Regions from separate parts of the Homo sapiens genome. Here region 1 is linked to region 2. Evidence: promoter capture Hi-C in 16 types of primary human blood cells and fetal thymus (Javierre and others, 2016). All regions are on one chromosome and are shown on one strand. The core of a region is centred on a gene start or on the middle of the fragment in contact, and the rest is flanking DNA. Distances in the headings are between cores, read along the strand shown.

Region 1 (4,062 bases), core at 298-2,797, 120 kb before region 2:
TCCTCATTTCTCATTCCGCCTCCATCATGTTGGCTTTCTCCCCTTTATTCCCTTCTGGTTGCGAGACGGCTACAGCAGGCCAGCACTACATGCTTCCAGTTTCAGCTTCAGTGTAAGAGTCTCTTCCAGAACTTCCCGCAGAAGTGTCATTGTTTCTCATTGGGTCCTTTACCAATCACTGTGGCCAGGAGATGCAGTGCTCTGATGGTCTGGATCCCATGTCACATTCTCCACTCTGAGCTGGGTAGCAAGGCCCCACCCAAACCACAAGGACCAAGGATGGCGTTGAAGTGGAAGGAGAGATTTCCCCCAATTGACCGTTTTTAGAAGTACAGTGGACAGGCTGATGAACCACTTTCCAAAAACAGTGTCCTTTTCAATTAATGAATGGTAGACCTATGGCTCTGAAGCCTGTCTGTCTCCAAAGTCCTGCCCTTACCCGTTATACTGCCTGGCCTCTCTTGTTTCGGGCTGTTTTCAATGAGGTACTCAATTATGTGTCCCACAAATGGGGCACCAGGGGGTAGAAGACAAACAAGAAAGTCCCTAAGTACATGGAACTCAGAAAAATTCATCTCCTCATACTAAGAAAAAGGATTCTCTTGAATATAATTTCTGAGAACAGGAAAGTGGCTGAGATAGGAGGATCAGTCTAAATGTTAGTAAACAGGATTTATAGACTTGGCCTGGAGAGAGGCACTAAAATGCCCTCATCTTTTCAAGATGGGCTGAACTCAGGTCCCTCCCAGAGCATATCTTAAGCACCTGGTCTCACACAGTGCCTGACAAATGGGCCAGAGGCATTGGGCTATTTAAAAATTAGGCAAACTGGGTGTAGTGGTGCGTGCCTGTAATCCCAGCTACCAGGGAGGCTGAGCAGGAGAAATGCTTGAGTCTAGGAGTTCAAGCCCAGCCTGGGCAAGATATATAGCAAGACCTCATCTCTAAAAAATAATAATTAAATTTTTAAAATCACAGTTAGGTAATAGTGAGCTTTTCACACATCAGAGTAAAAAAAATCATATTATTTAATGATATGATAAAAATCATATATTTCATGATATTAAAATCATTTTAATTGTAAGTTTTCTCCTATAAGCTGTTTTTAAACTTTTGGCAGCTGCTACTGCTTGTCTGCTAGCAAATCCTGTTGAGGAGGATATGAATCAATAAGTAGCCAGCAAAGATTTCAGAGAAATGCAGGAACCTGGCCATTTAAGTTTAATTTCACAGACCATGACCTCATGGCATATAAGTACAATATGACCATTATTTGCAACTGGCAAAACTCTTTTTCTGATGGAGTAAAACCCTTTACCTGTCAAAGAGCCTGGAGGCTGGCATGTCCTTCATTGCAGGAACAAGGATGAGCGCCACTCTGTCCAAGAATCACACCCACTGCAGCTCTTATTCTTTATAAATGCAGCGGATGCCACACTCGGACCATTCCACTGGCTTTGTCTTTTCTTCTCAAGCACTCAGTAAATAAGGAGCACAAATTCCCAAAGATATTTGAAGTCTGTGTGAAAGATAAAGTCTCTGTACCAGTAGAGAATCGTGGAAGATCAGGAGGTCATGTGATAGAGCTTCTAAGCATGTGGTTGTTCGGCTTATTTTAAAAATTCCAAGTATGTTGTTTTTTAAAAGTGTTCACATAGCATACATTTCTTCATAGGTATAGTGTATTTTCTCTTTAGAAAAATGAAATTTCTTACATTTTTTCCCTGATTTTATTTCCTGTCTCAAAATAGCTAAATTGGATTGCCAGAATGATTGTTATAATACCTTCTAAATATTTCTTTTTACAATCATTTGTTTGATGCACATGAGGAAAATACTATAAACTGTTCATTTTGCTATGCCGTTTATTTTAATTTTGCTACATTATCAATTTCAGTGTATGTCACCTTTCATCATCCCAAGTCCCTTCTTACAAGCCATATGCAAAAAAAAAAAAAAAACCCTTCATTGCAATGAGGCACTCAACAATCATGTGGTATGAGGCCCACAGAAAGGAAGGAACTTCCCCACCATCAGAAGCTAGGTCAGTGGCAGGGCAAGAGCCAGAATTCCTGTCAGCTCCCAGGGGTGGGCTCTTTGCACCACACTATGGAAGTAGTTGAATTTTTTCGACCTGCTTTCTCTTAGGGTTTATTTCTCGGTTGCATTTAGTACTTCTATTGTCCTGGGTTTTTTTCTCCTTCTAATAGAAAAAAAAAAGGATATGGTATTTTTATTTTATGACCCCATCAACCTAGTTTCCAATATCTTCCCACAAGCTCCCCTGCATCCCCCACTCTCCTCAGGCACCTACATACACTGCCGTCTTTCTAGTGCCAGGCCATTGCTCAGAGTGTTCTCAACCTTGCCTGGCCTTCCTTCTCCCCTTGGCCCCATTCCAAATTCCAAGGACGGGGTCCTTGGAAAGTATCTGAGACTCTTCAACTCATTGTGACATCTCCTTTCTGGAGCTCCTTCATTTATAGGCATATGTTTGGGTACCTCCTAGATACCCAGTTGTTCCACAGTTAGGAGTGCAACCTTGTTCTTTTATTTTGAATTTTTTTATTTTGACAGCTTTAGTGGTACAAGTAGTTTTTGGTTACATGGATGAATTGTATAGTGATGAAGTCTGGGATTTTAGCGCACCTGTCACCCAAGTCGTGTAAGTCATACCCACCAGGTAGTTTTTCATCCCTCACCTCCCTCCCACTCTCATTCTGAGTCTCCAATGTCCATTACGCTGCTCTGTATGCCTTGACATACCCATAGCTTAAAAGATTACAACCCTGTAAGACAAAAATTATTCAGTGGTGACAAGATCATCAGATAAGATCGTGGGTCAGAGACCTGGGCTCTTGGCTACCATGCTTTGTGATTTGGCCAAGGCAAATCTCTCTGAGCCTTTCTCACTCAAAAGTGGAGTTGACTAGAATCCTTGTTTACTACACTTGCTGAAATCTCCAGAATCACCCAGGCCACTTGATTAACATACCCAGTCTCAGGCCTCTCTACCAGGGATTTACATTTGGAAGGCACTGGGAGGTCCTGGTCCCTGGGTTTCTAAGGCAGGCAATTCAGGAGCAGGTAGAGCCAGATGATCTGGAAGTCTGATTCTGAGGGGGATTTTGCCTCATTCTCCTTTGGATCCACCACACAGTCCACAGAGCAGGTGCCCAGGGATTCCATGGTGAGGCTCGTCCGGAAGATTCTGTGACTTCCAGGGCTCATTTTTATTCCTACACTGAAGGAGCCACATGGGGAGAGCCTTGCAAGTGTCAGTCCATTCCCTGGACACACACTGTCATTTTCTCAGCACTGAGAGACAAGCTTTGTTCATCAAACAGTGGTTTGCTAACAAGCCATTTGAATGACAAAAGTAGAACCCTGCTGCCTTGGACAGCTTTGGGCTAGCTGGGTGTAGGTCCCTGGCACTGAGAGTTGCCTCCCCCACAGAGAGCCTTGGCCATCCCCCATGGCTGTTCTGGGTTACTCAGACCCACAGTAGTGCTGCAGGTTGGAACACCTTGGAGGGCAAAGGGATGCATTTCAAGAAATGAGAGGGCTTGGAACAGAACTCTCGGGAGAATGTCAACCAACACACCACTGAGAGGTAGCCCTGTTCACTGAAACTTAATTACCCTCGGTGCCTCCCAATATCTTGCAAAACCAGTGAACACAGCTTTTCGGACCTATAGTGACTGGGTAAGATGAGGCCCTGCAGAGCATGGCAGGCAAGGCACTCAGGAAGGAAAAGTAGCCGTGTGACCCTGAGTGGCTCTCGGACCATCCCCAGACTCAGCTTCTCTCCTGATTTTAGCAGTGCCAATATGTTGAATCCTCTGATGTCTCTGGGAGAGCATCCAGAAGAAAGCCTAGCACTGATTATATTTACAGTAATGCATCACTTAATCAGGGAGAGACATTCTGAGAATGCTTCATTAGATTATTTTGTCATTGTGTGAAACATCATAGAGTGAACTTAGACAAAGCTACAGTGTAGCCTGCTACACACCTAGGCTAGATGGTGTAGCCTGTTGCTCCTAAGCTACCAGCCTGTAC
Region 2 (3,931 bases), core at 1,431-3,930:
TTTGTTTTCTATTTTTTTGATTATAGACATCCTGGTGAGTGTGAAGTGCTATCTCATTGTAGTTTTGATTTGCATTTCCTTAATGACTAATGATGTTGAGCATCACTTCATATGCTTATTAATATTCCATTAACATATGTTTCTTAGGAGAAATGTATATTCAAGTCCCTTGCCCATTTTTTTAGTTGGGTTGTTTTTCAGTTGTTGATTTATACAAGTTCTTTATTTATTCTGGATACTGCACTCTTACCAGATATACAATTTGCAAATATTTTCTCTCTTTTTATATTTTTTCCACTCGTGTCCTGAAAGTCATTTTTTCCTTCTGAAATACCTTGATAATAAATGCATTGCTGACTATGCCTTTGCCACTTAGTCCTTTCCTAGGGCCTTCAATAACGCTTATTTTCGAAGACACTTGATGTTTTTATTTTGTTGAGACAGAGTCTCCCTCTGTCGCCCAGGCTGGAGTGCAGTGGTGCGATCCTGGCTCACTGCAAACTTCGCCTCCTGGGTTCAAGCGATTCTCCTGCCTCAGCCTCCTGAGTAGCTGGGATTACAGGCGCCCACCACCACGCCCGGCTAATTTTATTTTATTTTATGCTTTTATTTTTAGTAGAGATGGGATTTCACTATATTGGCCAGGCTGGTCTTGAACTCCTGACCTCAAGTGATCTGCCTGCCTCTGGCTCCCAAAGTGCTGGGATTACAGATGTGAGCCACCACGCCTGGCCTCTTGATGTTTTTTTAAATTGAGTGTTAGGTACATGCATGCCCATTTTATTGACATTTTATTATATAAAGGTTATATTCCCTCTTATATCTGTATGTATAGGTATTTTTATATGAAATAAATTTTAAATGCTTGACAATAATGTCTCCTCTACGACTTCTATTTTCTGTTCTTGCATTCACTAACATACTTTTAGAATGAATGAGTGGTCTATATTCTATATACTTTTATAGAATGAGTGGTCTATATTTTCTGCTTCGTTTTATCCACAACTGATGCCTCTTCAATTTCTTGCAATACAACTTTTTTGTCCTGAAATAATGAAACATTTGGGTCTGTGCCCGACCCTTATCATTATTCTTTCTTCCTAGGTAATGTTACTCATGATTCATCCACCTACTTGCATTATACAGATGACGCCTAATCTGTGTCTCTGAACCTAAACCCTAACCCAAGTTTTATTATTTATTTATTTGAAACAGTTTCCCTCTTGTTGCCCAGGCTGGAGTGCAGTGGTACGATCTGGGCTCATTGCAACTTCAGCCTCTCGGGTTCAAGCGATTCTCCTGCCTCAGCCTCCCAAGTAGCTGGGATTACAGGTGCCCACCACCATGCCCAGCTAATTTTTCGTATTTTTAGTAGGGACTGGGTTTCACCATGTTGGCCAGGCTGGTCTCGAACTCCTGACCTCAGGTGATCCACCTGCCTCGGCCTCCCAACGTGTTGGGATTATAGGCGTGAGCCACTGCGCCCAGCCAACTCAAGTTTTAGAACTCTATATGCTGGATATTTTCAGTCGTTTACTTTACCAGATGTATTTCCCCTATTAATCGTTTTTTTCCTATCCACTTTTCTATTTCTTCAAACCATATCAGTTTCAGTCTCATATCTTTGTAGTAATCATTGGTTACTCTCTCTTCTGTCACTTCTGATCAGTTATCAAGTCTTTCGTCTTTTACTTTAAATATACTTCATTTCCACTCAATGGTCAATCATCCCATTTTAATCCACTATCGCAGAGTGCTGGAATTATTTCAATAGCTCCTCTCTGCCTGACCACTTCCTCTCCCTCCTTAGGTGATAATCTTTTTTTCTTGTTTGAGACGGAGTCTCGCTCTGTCGCCCAGGCTGGAGTGCAGTGGCGCGATCTCGGTTCACTGCAAGCTCCGCCTCCCGGGTTCACGCCATTCTCCTGCCTCAGCCTCCCGAGTAGCTGGGACTACAAGCGCCCGCCACCATGCCCAGCTAATTTTTTTGTATTTTTAGTAGAGACAGGGTTTCACCGTGTTAGCCAGGATGGTCTCCATCTCCTGACCTTGTGATCCACCCGCCTCGGCCTCCCAAAGTGCTGGGATTACAGGCGTGAGCCACCGCGCCCGGCCGGTGATAATCTTTTAAACAGAGGACTGTGATGAAACATGGTGCTAGGTGAGCAAGATAACTTAGGATATCTTTCTTTTGTGTTAGATGAAGTGAAGAAGGGAGGGTGTTGACCCTCCTGGATGAAGTGATGAAGCCCTGAACTGTGGCAATGATGCCGGAGAAGGATGTAAAAATCGTAAAGTCGACTGGTGACCAATTAGAGCTGGAAGGACTTACCCACGCTAACACCTCCCAAATATGGGAGTATTTTACTACCATAAATGAAATACATCAAGTGAATTTTTGCTAAGCGAGCAATACCCGCGCTTCGGTAAGAACTGTCACGCTTAGAGCGGGCCAACCAGCTTCCACCATCCAGATGGCGGATCCTAGATTGGCAGCCTGCGTCTCTCTAGCTACCGTCTCTATGGTTCGGGGAATCTCCAGGTCGGGGCTTGACCGGTCCGACTTTTGCGCGTGCGCGAGTCCTGGCGCGTGCCCGCCCTCAAGCAACTGTCCGACCCAGCGGGTGGGAGGGGTGGGTCTGGGAACGTTGCGGCGGCTGTCGCCGCGGCCCCAGCACCCAGAGCTGTTCTCTGGCCAAGCCTGCGCCTGTAGTCCTTCTTTGCCTCCTGGGGCGGCCGCCACCCACCCCCAGATGGTGGGTCCGGAGGATGCCGGAGCCTGCTCGGGAAGAAACCCCAAGTTGCTCCCGGTGCCTGCGCCGGACCCCGTGGGCCAGGACAGGAAGGTAATCCGGGCCACGGGCGGCTTTGGCGGAGGCGTCGGCGCTGTGGAGCCGCCGGAGGAGGCTGACGAGGAGGAGGAGGCTGACGAGGAGGAGGAGACGCCGCCTCGGCAGCTCCTTCAGCGTTACCTCGCGGCGGCCGGGGAGCAGCTGGAGCCGGGGCTCTGCTACTGTCCGCTCCCCGCTGGCCAGGCCGGCGCCCCGCCGCCCTCGGCAGCCCCACGATCGGACGCCTGCCTGCTGGGCTCGGGCTCCAAACACCGCGGCGCGGAGGTGGCTGATGGCCGCGCGCCGCGGCACGAAGGCATGACCAACGGCGACTCGGGTTTTCTGCCGGGCCGGGACTGTCGCGATCTGGAAGAGGCTCGCGGGCTGGCGCGCGCCGGCGGCCGGGAGTCGCGCCGCCGCCGCCCCTACGGCCGCCTTCGCCTGGAGGGGCCTGGCGACGAGGACGCGGACGGCGCGGGAAGCCCGTCCGATTGGGCCTCTCCGCTTGAGGACCCGCTGCGGAGCTGCTGCCTGGTGGCCGCGGACGCCCAGGAGCCCGAGGGCGCGGGCAGCGACTCGGGGGACAGCCCCGCCAGCAGCTGCAGCAGTAGCGAGGACTCAGAGCAGCGGGGAGTCGGCGCCGGGGGTCCCGAGGAGGGCGCGCCCCCTGCCACCTCGGCCGAGAGGACTAATGGGGGTGCGGAGCCGCGCCTGGGCTTTTCTGACATTCACTTCAACTCTCGCAACACGTTCCAGGTGAGCCGCGGTCAGAGCGCCCGCGATCACCTGCCCCCGGCGGGGCCGCCGGTGCCCTTGCCCGCCGCGGAGCAGGGTCCTGCGGGGGCTTCGGCCCGGGCTCGACGGAGTGGCGGCTTCGCGGACTTCTTCACCAGGTACAGCGCAGGCTGCATGGGACTCGGGGCGGGTCCGGGGCCGGGGCCGGAGCCGGGGTCTTGGTGGGAGTCGGAGCCGGAGCCGGAGCCGGAGCGGAGAGCTTGGTCGGCCGCTTCCGTGCCAGCCCCACACGCGTCAGGACTTAGCTTTGATTTGTCACTGGAGGAAGAGGAACTGGGTCGGCTTTGTGTTTCTATAGGAGAAGT

The links. The method cuts DNA at HindIII sites, captures the fragments that hold promoters and counts their contacts. A CHiCAGO score of 5 or more calls a contact.
Region 1: a contact is called between the fragment with the promoter of PLCE1-AS1 here and the fragment with the promoter of TBC1D12 in region 2, in 3 of 17 cell types (total B cells, naive B cells and neutrophils). The highest score is 5.9, in total B cells.

What each region holds. Positions count from the first base shown.
Region 1 is chr10:94,285,523-94,289,584 of GRCh38, forward strand. PLCE1-AS1 (PLCE1 antisense RNA 1) reads right to left here and starts at 1,548. Exons shown (of 4, transcript NR_033969.1): 1 at 1,319-1,548. The region is part of intron 22 of PLCE1 (phospholipase C epsilon 1); the gene reads left to right. The HindIII fragment of the contact is 4,167 bases long and covers 1-3,328 here.
Region 2 is chr10:94,399,861-94,403,791 of GRCh38, forward strand. It overlaps TBC1D12 (TBC1 domain family member 12), which reads left to right and starts at 2,681. Exons shown (of 13, transcript NM_015188.2): 1 at 2,681-3,724. The coding sequence starts at 2,754. RefSeq lists enhancers at 2,429-2,588, 3,889-3,931 and silencers at 2,919-3,408, 3,479-3,808. The HindIII fragment of the contact is 10,631 bases long and covers 1-3,931 here.